2 separate regions of the Homo sapiens genome follow, and region 2 is linked to region 1. The links are contacts of gene promoters, found by promoter capture Hi-C in human tissues and cell types (Jung and others, 2019). All regions are on one chromosome and are shown on one strand. The core of a region is centred on a gene start or on the middle of the fragment in contact, and the rest is flanking DNA. Distances in the headings are between cores, read along the strand shown.

Region 1 (6,407 bases), core at 2,555-5,054:
GTCTAACTTTTTATTTTTGGTCTGGCTGTTGTGGTGTGCAAAACTCCGTACATTGCTATTTTGCCACACTGCAACACCTTACAGATGTGGAAGATGTGAAATTTGTCATCAATTATGACTACCCTAACTCCTCAGAGGATTATATTCATCGAATTGGAAGAACTGCTCGCAGTACCAAAACAGGCACAGCATACACTTTCTTTACACCTAATAACATAAAGCAAGTGAGCGACCTTATCTCTGTGCTTCGTGAAGCTAATCAAGCAATTAATCCCAAGTTGCTTCAGTTGGTCGAAGACAGAGGTTCAGGTAAGGATGACTGATAGGAAATGTTGGTAGTTACGAGTCACATCGTTGTCTACAAATCCATTTAAATGGTATTGGAGGGTGAGTAAAACCTTGAATGTGAAAACTTAAGCTGAAAAATTGTAAAAACATTTCACGCCTACCATGAATAGATCTGTTTCTTTCTGTCCACAATGATTTGTGTCATAGACATAATTGATCAATTTGCAATTGTTTTCTTGACAGGTCGTTCCAGGGGTAGAGGAGGCATGAAGGATGACCGTCGGGACAGATACTCTGCGGGCAAAAGGGGTGGATTTAATACCTTTAGAGACAGGGAAAATTATGACAGAGGTTACTCTAGCCTGCTTAAAAGAGATTTTGGGGCAAAAACTCAGAATGGTGTTTACAGTGCTGCAAATTACACCAATGGGAGCTTTGGAAGTAATTTTGTGTCTGCTGGTATACAGACCAGTTTTAGGACTGGTAATCCAACAGGGACTTACCAGAATGGTTATGATAGCACTCAGCAATACGGAAGTAATGTTCCAAATATGCACAATGGTATGAACCAACAGGCATATGCATATCCTGCTACTGCAGCTGCACCTATGATTGGTTATCCAATGCCAACAGGATATTCCCAATAAGACTTTAGAAGTATATGTAAATGTCTGTTTTTCATAATTGCTCTTTATATTGTGTGTTATCTGACAAGATAGTTATTTAAGAAACATGGGAATTGCAGAAATGACTGCAGTGCAGCAGTAATTATGGTGCACTTTTTCGCTATTTAAGTTGGATATTTCTCTACATTCCTGAAACAATTTTTAGGTTTTTTTTGTACTAGAAAATGCAGGCAGTGTTTTCACAAAAGTAAATGTACAGTGATTTGAAATACAATAAATGAAGGCAATGCATGGCCTTCCAATAAAAAATATTTGAAGACTGAATTAAGTGGAAATTGTACTTTATTTTATATAATGTCATGTAAAACTTTGCTTAAGATGGTCTGGTTTTTTTTTTGTTTTTGTTTGGTTTTTTTTTTCCATGAAAACAAATGACTGTTCCTTTTTATTTAATTTGGGAGGCAGGGGGAATCAGAAGGCCCTTCTTTATAATGAGCTATTCATATTGCAGGAGTCAGAATGAATTGATACAGGTGAATTTTTAGTTACAGGCTAAATTGCATAAAAGCTTTGTCAGCTTCCAGCATCAGGGGAGTCATTTAATAGCCTTTTTCCTTATTTGCTAGTATGGTTAAATGAGAAAATAGTAAAATAGATACAAAGTCATCTATATAGTGTGAGAACGTGGGTGACTTTTTCAAAGTTTATAATTTAAAAAGCTCCAAATAACTGGCTTTTTCAAGAGACTTATACTCATGCTCTTGGCTATACTGTGAATTACTGAAATGTTGAACAAACCTGTGAAAGACATACATTAGCCCTTTAAGATGGCCAGGAGCTAAGCTTGAGTCTCCTTTACTGAATTTCGTTCTTAGTGCAGGTTACTTGTAGATTCTAGTCTTCACAGGCTCCCTGGGGCTCTTAACTAGTCACACTGGGAGTCATGAATGTCTTTCCAATAATTCAGGGAATTCTAGAGATCCTCAAACTGTAAGGTCTATTCATACTCAACACAAGGAAAAAACCTCATTAAAATTAATGACTAATCAGGAGGCAACGTAACCAAAAGCACAGTGAATGAAAGTTTTCATGGTAGGTTCAACATGGGTTTATTGCTAGAAAGATCCAGGGGATAGCTTTAGGTTTAACTTCGGCTCACCAACGTAACTTTCTAATCATTTATTTCAGTAATAGCTAGAAGTGGGTCTGAATGTTTTCCCAGAGTCTGATACGTGTTTTTTTTTGCCAGAAGAGAGGTCTTCAGGAGACTTCATTTAAATTCTGATTATTAAACTGAGGCTTTAATTGATGTTAATGCCTTATGTCAAATGTAAAGTTAGAATTTGCTAGGGCTGGGATAGGGAGTGATATTTCTAGGACTTAGACATTGAAAACTAATTCAGCCTGTAGTAACCTGGATGGTTTTCAATGGCATGGTTAGTCAAATTCATGGTTTTAAACTTAGAAGCAGCTTTCGGGGGAGAGGGTAGGTTGGAGCATTTATTACATATTTTACTGTTTAATGTCTTAACCGTGGGCCTTTTAATTTGTAAACACTGAAATGATTGTTGGGCTGTGGAAAACATTTACCTATTTACCTTGGAAGTTTTAAAAGACAGTCCACTTTTTAGCATGTGTGTTGTGTCCAGCCTGTGGTCGTCTTAACTAATAAATGTGATTTTTCTCCCCATTCTCTCTTTTTATTTATTTGCGTATAGGCCTTTTACCTGGTGTGAGTTCCTGAATGTGGAAAACACCTGGCAGTAGTACCCAGCTTTGCAGTTAATTACTATCTAGCTGGCCTTTTTTTAAACCCTTGTATACACTTGTAAAGAAGAACTATTTCCTGAACCTGGTACAGCACTTTACTAATGATAAAACTTTACTCCTGAATTACATTAACTCAATTGCTAAGCTGTTACCCCTCTTAATCAGGTAGTAGTTTGGTAGTCTCACAGTGAAATGTAGATTGTTCCTTTTTCCCTGAACCTCTTTAAAGGTTTTCGTAACTGAGGCTGGTATAAGAAATCATGGACTTTGGAATCAAACTTCCTCAGTCTGGGTATACCACTTTTCCACTTTCTGGGTAGGTCTTAAGGTCTCGACCTATTTAAATAGAAACTGCAAAATCAGAAACCTGCAATTTAATCATGAGTCTCTTAATAATAACAGTCACAAGTCTCATTGTTTTGATGAACCCATAGAAGGGGCCCCTGGAAGAAATTGCACGTACGTGGTTTTCTCTGACACCAGGAGGGTTTAAGACATGTCAGGGCCCCTTGGTTTATTTCTAGTGCATTCCCAGGTGAGGCAGATGCTGCTGGCTGGGGACTGCCCTTTGGAAGCCACTGCAATATTTAAAGTGACCATACCACTACCCTAGTCACGAAGCCTATCGCCCCCCTCCCCGGAAGCTTAAGCGTCAAGACAACGGCTCTGGGGTTAGGCCTAGGCCACCTGGCGGCAGCATTTGCCTAGTTAAGAAGGCCTGGGCTTACAAATCACCGTAAAGGACTAAAACTGTTTAAAGGGAAACCAAATGCCAAATTTAGTCCAAGTGCTTGATTGAGGTGTATATAGAAGGTGATTTGGATAATACTGAAGTATTTTAATTTTCTGGACTGCAAAACAGTGGCAGAAGGAAGTGACTCAAGTGGCTACACCACGGTTATAAATAGGTGGGAATAACCTTTACTGGTGCTTACGAGGAAAGAAAAAAGTCAATCTGAAGGGAGGGGCGCGACGCGAACGGCAAGCTAGCAGAGAACCATCCGAGCCGGCGTCCGCCATGGTGGGCGGGGGACGGCTGCGGCCGGAACGCAGACATGCGCTTCCGGGGTGGGGCCTGCCGCCCGCAAGCACGCTCACCTCCGTTGCGCCTGCGCCGTGGCCTCTCCGGATTCTGTTAACGGTAGTGGTGGCTTGTTGGGATCCGTTGAGTGATGGGAGAGTGTGCTCTTTAACTTCGGAGAGAGATGCGCTCTCGTGTAGCCGTCAGGGCCTGCCATAAGGTCTGCAGGTGCCTGTTGTCTGGGTTTGGGGGTCGAGTAGATGCGGGGCAGCCGGAGCTGTTGACGGAAAGGAGTAGCCCCAAAGGAGGGCATGTGAAGTCGCACGCGGAGCTCGAGGGGAACGGCGAGCACCCAGAAGCCCCCGGGTCTGGAGAGGGAAGCGAGGCGCTGTTAGAGATCTGTCAGAGAAGGCATTTCCTAAGTGGAAGCAAGCAGCAGCTTAGCCGGGATTCTCTTCTGAGTGGGTGCCACCCCGGCTTCGGACCCTTGGGCGTAGAGTTGCGGAAGAACCTGGCCGCAGAATGGTGGACCTCGGTGGTGGTGTTCAGGGAGCAGGTATTCCCGGTGGACGCCCTCCACCACAAACCAGGCCCTTTGCTACCCGGGGACAGTGCCTTCAGGTTAGTTTCTGCAGAAACTCTACGCGAAATCTTGCAAGACAAAGAGCTGAGTAAGGAACAGCTAGTAGCATTTCTTGAGAACGTATTAAAAACTTCTGGGAAACTACGGGAGAACCTTCTTCACGGTATGCTTCACGATTTCATGCTTCAAAACAGGTGTCGGGTGGAAAGGCGAGGCAGTCTTGCTGGATCTTGGGGATTGCAACTGGCCCTGTATTCCCATGCAAGGAAGTTAGTTAGTTCTCATCTTTTTGAAGTAGTCGGATATATTAACAGTGCTCTACCCTGGAGAAAACTGGTCCATGGAATCATTGCTGTTCCTTAAACAATCTGTCCGAAGGACCTGGGAACGCTCTCAATTTCACGGGGCAACTTCTGAACACAGTGCTGTCATTTAGTGCAATGTAGTCTAAGTGCATAAGGAACTACACAGACATTTTGAACTTTTCTTAGATTTATTCTAAGTAAAAATGTTGAAATTATAATTCTGAAACTATTTCATGTATATCATAGGATAAATCAAGGCCAGGCGCAGTGGCTCACGCCTGTAATCCCAGCATTTTGCAAGGCAGAGGCGGGTGGATCACCTGAGGTCAGGAGTTCGAGACTAGCCTGGCCAACATGGTGAAACCCCGTCTCTACTAAAAAGACAAAAATTAGCCGGCCGTGACGGCGAGCGCCTGTAATCCCAGCTACTTGGGAGGCTGAGGCAGGAGAATCGCTTGAACCCAGGAGGCAGAGGTTGCAGTGAGCCGAGATCACGCCACTGCACTCCAGCTTGGGTGACAAGAGCAAAACTCCGTCTTAAAAAAAAAAAATTCAAATAGTTGGGTTAGTTGTTATTAGGAACCAAGATATTCATTGTAAAAGAAGAGATAATATGTAAAAGAAGGTACGTATAAACTAATGTTAAATATGGATTGGTAAATTAAATATGAATTGGTAAATTAAAATTGAATATGGGTCTCACTCTGTCACCCAGACTCGAGTGCAGTGGTGTGATCATGGCTCACTGCAGCCTCGACCTCGGGCTCAAGTGAACCTCCCACCTCAGCCTCCCAAGTAGCTGGACTACAGGCACATGCCACCACACCCAGCTAATTTTTGTGTTTTTTGTAGAGATGAGGTTTTGCCATGTTGTCCAGGCTGGTCTTGAACTCCTGAGCTTAAGCAATCCGCCCATCTTGGCCCCCCAAAGTGCTGGGATTACAGGTGTGAGCCACAGTGCCCAGCCTCATGATTTTTAAAAATATATTTCCTAACTTTCTTCGTTTAAAGTTCCTAGAAGCAATGACCCTCAGTAGCAATGAGCACACCTAGTGCCCAGATCCTGGTTCCTTTTTTTTTTTTTTTTGAGACAGAGTCTCGCTCTGCCGCCCAGGCTGGAGTGCAGTGGCACAATCTCGGCTCACTGCAAGCTCCATCTCCCAGGTTCACGCCATTCTCCTGCCTCAGCCTCCCGAGTAGCTGGGACTAGACTACAGGCACTTGCCACCACGCCTGGCTAATTTTTTGTATTTTTAGTAGAGACGGGGTTTCACCTTGTTAGCCAGGATGGTCTCTATCTCCTGACCTTGTGATCCGCCCGCCTCGGCCTCCCAAAGTGCTGGGATTACAGGCGTGAGCCACTGCGCCCGGCCTCCAGATCTTGGTTTCTAAGATGAACCAGTACTGGGAGAAATGGCTGATTCCGGGTCTGGGGTTAGGGAAAGTACAAGGTGAGTTTGAAACACTTTATGGTGCTAAAAAGCAAAGAATTGCTTGAAGACTAATGGGTCATATAAAAAGGTCACAGATGCTGGCTTGAGGAGGGTTGTCACTGGCCACATCTAGGACAAATTGAACATTAAGATACATATTAATGGTAATGGATCATAACACATTGACTAAAATCTAAGAGTCAATAGTATTAATCAAAAACAAATAATTGACCCTAGAGGTCGGGGGCGGGGGGAAGAGGTAGAGAAAGCTTATGTTTTTACAGAAGCTATGGAATAAATGTAGAAGGAAAGATACATTAGAAAATTCACCATTTCATGATATTGCAAACCCCGATATCATTGATTCAAGCAACAGTCATC
Region 2 (6,407 bases), core at 1,021-3,520, 260 kb before region 1:
TCTGGCCAGGCACGGTGGCTTGCGCCTGTAATCCCAGCACTTTGGGAGGCTGAGGTGGGTGGATAATCTGAGGTCAGGAGTTTGAGACCAGCCTGGCCAACATGGTGAAACCTGTCTCTACTAAACATAAAAAAAAATTAGCTCGGGGTGGTGGTGGGTGCCTGTAATCCCAGCTACTTGGGAAGCTGAGGCAGGAGAATCGCTTGAACCTGGGAGGCAGAGGTTGCAGTGAGCCAAGATCGCACCATCGCACCATTGCACTCCAGCCTGGGCAACAAGTGCAAAACTCTGTCTAAAAAATAATAATATAATCCATACTCCATGAAGGCCTTCCACAAAGTAGACCTATCTTAGATTTTCAAATTTATCTTTCATCTTCCAAAGATAACTGGGCACTTTCCTACTTCTTTTTCTCACAATATGCTTCCTTTTTTTTTTTGAGACAAAGTCTCGTGCTGTTGCCAAGGCTGGAGTGCAATGGCGCCATCTTGGCTCACTGTAACCTCTGCCTCCTGGATTCAAGTGATACTCGTGCCTCAACCTCCCGAATAGCTGGGATTACAGGTGCCGCCACCACGCCCAACTAATTTTTGTTTTTTTTTAGTAGAGACAGGGTTTCACCACGTTGGCCAGTCTGGTTTCAAACTCCTGACGTCAGGTAATCTGCCCGCCTCGGCCTCCCAAAGTGCTGCAATTACAGGTGTGAGCCACTGCACCCAGCCACGTTATGCTTCCTTTAGCCCTTTAGCACTCCACATTTATCTTTTTTTTTTTTCCAATTGACTACTACGTGTGTTCTATTTCTAGGGTACTAATACTCAAAGCTCATCTTCTTCTTATAGCACTCCTTAGCCTCGTAGGAAAGACACTCCTTTCTCAGGATTCTCTAGCGCCCTGATTCTGCACCCAAAATTGGGAGTAAATGCTATGTAACCCATCTATTTACCACTTGTTTTATGCTGTTTGTCTACTTGTCACATTTTCTGTTAGGTGTCAAGCTCCTGGAGAGACAGGGATACTGGCTTTTTGAATTATGGGTAGCATTGGCTCTCAAACCTCCTTTCTACTTTGATTCACAACATAAAACATTTTTTTGTTGTTGGGGGGGCAGGGCACAGGTCTTGCTCTTTTGCCCAGGCTGGAGTGCAGTGGTGCGATCTAGGCTCACTGCAGCCTCTGCCTCCTGGATTCAAGCGATTCTCCTGCCACATCCTCCCGAGTAGCTGGGATTACAGGGGCCCGCCACCACGTCTGGCTAATTTTTGCATTTTTAGTAGAGATGGGGTTTCACCATGTTTCTCAGTCTGGTCTCGAACGTCTGACCTCAGGTGATCCACCGCCTCGGCCTCCCAAAGTGCTGGGATTACAGGCGTGAGCCACTGCACCTGGCCGCACATAACCCATTTATATTTGCAACAACACTCAACCATGGAAATATATAGATTATAAAATTAGATATCAAAATTCTCAGAATGTTGCTTATAACTTCATGTCTTTCTCCCTCAAAGTATATCTGAATGCAAGTTATTGAGATTAATGTAGGAATAATCTTCAGTCTGCTCTGATTCTTTTTTTTTTGAGAGAAGGTCTTGCATGGTGATAGGCACACACCACCATGCCTGGATTTTTGTTTTGTTTTGTTTTAATTTTTTGTAGAAGGGGAGGTCTCATTATGTTGCTCAGACTGGTCTCGAACTCCTGAGCTCAACCCATCCTCCCTCCTGAGCCTCCCAAAGTGCTAGGATTACAGGTGTGAGCCACTGTGCCTGGCCTTCTAGTTCATTTTTTAAATTATTCAAAGCTGCCTTTTTTAGCAACGAAACACTTGGATACTCCATAACTTGAGACTCCAGTGAGTCCTGACATCGAGTTTGGAAACTGTTCTACATATAAAATAATGAATGTTTAACAGGCAAAATTAAATGTAGGTCTAAATTTTTAGTAGCTCATGCCTGTAATCCCAGCACTTTGGGAGGCCGAGGCGGGTGGATCAGCTGAGGTAAGGAGTTCGAGACCAGCCTGGCCAACATGTGAAAACCCATCTCTACTAAAAATACAAAGAAATTAGCCGGACATGGTGGCACACGCTTTAATCCCAGCTACTCGGGAAGCCGAGGCAGGAGAATTGCTTGAACCTGGGAGGCGGAGGTTGCAGTGACCCAAGATCACGCCATTGCACTCCAGCCTGGGTGACAAGAGCAAGACTCCTGTCTCAAAAAAAAAAGCATAATCAGTTGATACCAATATTGAAATATTGCCTATTTCAGGTCATGTTGGGCCTCTTGTTAAAACTTTTGGAGTACAGAATTTCTGAAGTGCTGAGAAAAATATAAGGTAACCAGCATCAACATTTTTTCCTTTTCAGACTCCTGCCCTAAGAGCCATAGGGAATATCGTCACTGGTACAGATGAACAGACTCAGGTTGTGATTGATGCAGGAGCACTCGCCGTCTTTCCCAGCCTGCTCACCAACCCCAAAACTAACATTCAGAAGGAAGCTACGTGGACAATGTCAAACATCACAGCCAGCCGCCAGGACCAGATACAGCAAGTTGTGAATCATGGATTAGTCCCATTCCTTGTCAGCGATCTCTCTAAGGTAACGAAGTCTTAGGATTTAATCAAGTCATTTTTAGTATTTATAGAAAGCTGTGCTTGATAAGCTTCTTCATGTGCAAGAATCTTGGGTTCTACTAGGAGTCCTTTGCTGAACAATACCCAGTAACCCCTTTACTTAAGGTTGTATCAATAGAACCTTGGTACTTTCAGTCACCGTTTTTGTGAAAAAGTACTCTTGGAATCTTATTTGTGCAACTGTTCTGAAATAAAACCATTTCCTTATGTTTAATTGGCAGATTTTGAGACACAAAAGGAAGCTGTATGGGCCGTGGAACAGTTGAACAGATTGTGTACCTTGTTCACTGTGGCATAATAGAACCGTTGATGAACCTCTTACCTGCAAAAGATACCAAGATTATTCTGGTTATCCTGGATGCCATTTCAAATATCTTTCAGGTAAGTCCTATCAAGGTGGCTTTGTTTGAATTTGGACTTGATAATAATTGGTTTACTATTTAGACTTGGGGGAGGGCAGCTGTAAGTTTACTCACTAGTAAGCCACAGAATCAGAAAGCCTGTTTATGTGGCCACCCCTTTGATTAAAAATGTGGCAGGCATTATAAAAGATATAAAAGAGATGACAAGTGGATGGTGCGAACTGAATCGGAGTCAGGCGCTTATGTGGACTCATCACACCTGTTTACTTGGTTGATTTAATTTCCCAATTTCATACCGAATTTTGGTGACATTAAATTTGAATGACTTGGCCGGGCACAGTGGCTCATGCCTGTAATCCTAGCACTTTGGGAGGCTGAGGTGAGTGGACCACCTGAGGTCAGGAGTTCGAGACCAGCCTGGCCAACATGGTGAAACCCTATCTCTACTAAAAATACAAAAATTAGCCAGGCCTGGTGGCAGACGCCTATAATCCCAGCTACTTGGGAGGCTGAGGCAGGAGAATCGCTTGAACTCTGGGTGGGGGGCAGAGGTTGCAGTGAGCCAAGATTGCGTCACTTCACTCCAGCCTGGGCGAAAGAGTGAAACTCTGTCTCAAAAAAAAATTTTTTTTGAATGACTTAATTATATTTTTCTTCTGGTTCCACCCCTAACTGATCCAAGCATACCAGCATATGGCACTTTGCCGTAGTGATTGGTGGTAGGTAAGCCCTTCTCATCAACTTTGGATTCTAGAAATTTTTACATATAGAAGTTGAGCCTACAGGCTGGGCATGTTGGCTCACGCCTGTAATCCCAGCACTTTGAGGAGGCCGAGGCGGGTGGATCATGAGGTCAGGAGTTCAAGACCAGCCTGGCCAACATAATGAGACCCCCGTCTCTACTAAAAATTAAAAAAATTAGCTGGGCGTGGTGGCAGGCGCCTGTAATTCCAGCTACTCAGGAGGCTGAGGCAGGAGAATTGCTTGAACCTGGGAGGCGGAGGTTGCAGTGAGCCAAGATCACGCCATTGCACTCCAGCCTGGGTGACAAGAGTGAAACTGTCTCAAAAAAAAAAAAAAAATTGAGCCTACAATAATGGATGCTGGTGTATCTGTCACTGTGTATAAATAATTTGTCAGTATGTGGCCAGTATTTCTTCTTTCCTTCATCTAATCCCCTAAGTTATTTTGAAGCAAATCTGTTATTTCATCTATAGATATTTATGTATCTCTTAAAAGTTGAAAATTTAAAGAAAAACTAACCTACATACCATTCCATGTGCCCCGTAAATCCTTAATACCAACACACATTCTGTTCGGAGACATTTAGTTTAGCACTCCATAGGCCATCTTTGCCCTTAGACACCTTGACTACACCTTGTGATGATATAGGATGCTTTACGAAACAATACGCCCCTGTTCCCATAGCAGACCAGTTGAACTGGAGTGTAGTGTTGTTTTAAAAGTTGCCCACGTTGGCCAGGCGCGGTGGCTCATGCCTGTAATCCCAGCACTTTGGGAGGCTGAGGCAGGCGGATCACGAGGTCAGGAGATCGAGACCATCCTGGCTAACACGGTGAAACCCCGTCTCTACTAAAAATACAAAAAATTAGCCGGGCGTGGTGGCACGTGCCTATAGATCCAGCTACTTGGGAGGCTGAGGCAGGAGAATGGCATGAACCCGGGAGGCGGAGCTTGCAGTGAGCCGACTTCACGCCATTGCACTCCAGCCTGGGCAACAGAGCGAGACTCCATCTCAAAAAAAAAAGAAAACAGAAAAAAAGAAAAAAAAGTGGCCCATGTGATTTTGATACATACAAAAGGTTGAGAGCTACTGATTGTAAGATCTCTGGCTCCAGTCGAAGTACTGCTAAGAGTAGGTACAGATCCAATCACACTGAGTTTCAACAAAATATAGAATGGACATAAAACTATGATAGGCTTGATGAAGGAACTGTTAAGGTGCTTATTTCTGCCTGACATATCAATATTCAAATTTTCGATGTTTTCTTCATTAAAACATTCAGAGTATACGCCAGTAAACTTGGATTTTTTTTTTTTTTTTAGGCTGCTGAGAAACTAGGTGAAACTGAGAAACTTAGTATAATGATTGAAGAATGTGGAGGCGTAGACAAAATTGAAGCTCTACAAAACCATGAAAATGAGTCTGTATATAAGGCTTCATTAAGCTTAACTGAGAAGTATTTCTCTGTAGAGGTGAGTAATGGATGGTAATATTAATAACAACTTGGAAAAATGTAAAGCCAAGGCCATGAGCCCTTTTTTCCCTCATACTTTTAAAAATGAGCCTCATATCTTTGTTAAATATAGTAAAATATCAGTGTGCATAGGACGTAATGTACTTATTGCCCCTCTGATGTTTGGCTTGATGGTAATAAAATCTATTTATTTATTTATTTAGCTTTGGTTTCTACAAATTATTTTATTAGAATGTCAGACTCAAAAGGAACTACCAGTAACATGCCTGAACATGCTATATATGATTTATGCTTGACCCGTGACACCTGCTGTCACTGGATCCAGAGTGTGAACAAGGGAAAAGGAAGTGGATGTGGGCAGGGACAGCACCAGCCCTGGCTGGCCAGACCTCAGGCCCACAGACGTGGTCCCCATAACCACCAGGATCCCTACAATATACACATTCCTAATTCAGGCTCAACTCTCCTTTACCCAAGAGTAAATGCCTCAGGACTCAATCTGAATCACTGTCCGTCTCGGCTTCTTTCACATCCATGCTGAATTTGTACTCCTGGTCACATCCCATGTAAGCATCACTCATGAAGTATAGAGTGTAGTTGTGGGCACCAGTGGCTGGAGCCACAAAGTCCAACTTCACCTTGGCCTTCTGCTGCAGGATCAGCCTCTTGATGGAGATGAGGCTATTGGACTTGGTGTCTCCAATCACCACCCACCAGCCCTCTTCACGTTTCTGCGGGAAGAGAGGCGCAATGACAGGGCCTGTGACTTCCTCCTCTCGCTCCAGCTGCACCAGCACCACCGCTGGCCCGCCACTGCGGATGCTGTCCTTATCCACCACCTCCTAAGATAGTTCGATATTAGGGTAGCAGTTACAAAAGCGAGCCACATCTGTAATCTGGCTGTCAGTCAGCTGAAGAATTGTGTTCCGTTCTTCATCCTCCATCTCCATGATGTCGAAAACACTCTTCACTCCCTTGTCTGTGCAACGTTTGATATGCTCAGAGATGAAGTGTGGCAGCTGCTTCAGGTATGAGTCCTTGGACCACATGGCTTGGGTGACCATCTGGGCCAATTCCATAGCTGCCAGAGCAGAGCTGAGCCACCCATTGCTGGAGAGGACATCCACGCAGGCCTGGACGAGCCGGACTGCCTTACTAAGGATTTCCTCCGTATCTGACTGCAACTCAGCAC

The links. Contacts are between HindIII fragments. The study calls those that stand out against the background at their distance.
Region 2: a contact is called between a fragment that was not itself captured here and the fragment with the promoter of POLG2 in region 1, in 3 of the 25 tissues and cell types used here (H1 embryonic stem cells, hippocampus and lymphoblastoid cells).

The regions. Positions count from the first base shown.
Region 1 is chr17:64,494,451-64,500,857 of GRCh38, reverse strand. POLG2 (DNA polymerase gamma 2, accessory subunit) reads left to right here and starts at 3,804. Exons shown (of 8, transcript NM_007215.4): 1 at 3,804-4,451. The coding sequence starts at 3,890. It overlaps DDX5 (DEAD-box helicase 5), which reads left to right. Exons shown (of 13, transcript NM_004396.5): 12 at 85-309; 13 at 532-2,604. The coding sequence ends at 935. MIR3064 (microRNA 3064) reads left to right here and starts at 19; the gene lies at 19-84. It also overlaps a transcript of MILR1 not described here. RefSeq lists enhancers at 3,527-3,666, 4,047-4,116, 3,768-4,627. The HindIII fragment of the contact is 4,462 bases long and covers 2,544-6,407 here.
Region 2 is chr17:64,750,613-64,757,019 of GRCh38, reverse strand. It overlaps the pseudogene ARHGAP27P1-BPTFP1-KPNA2P3, the pseudogene KPNA2P3 and the pseudogene LOC101929240. Among named protein-coding and RNA genes, the nearest start is that of MIR6080, 27 kb to the left of the region's middle. The HindIII fragment of the contact is 7,908 bases long and covers 1-6,224 here.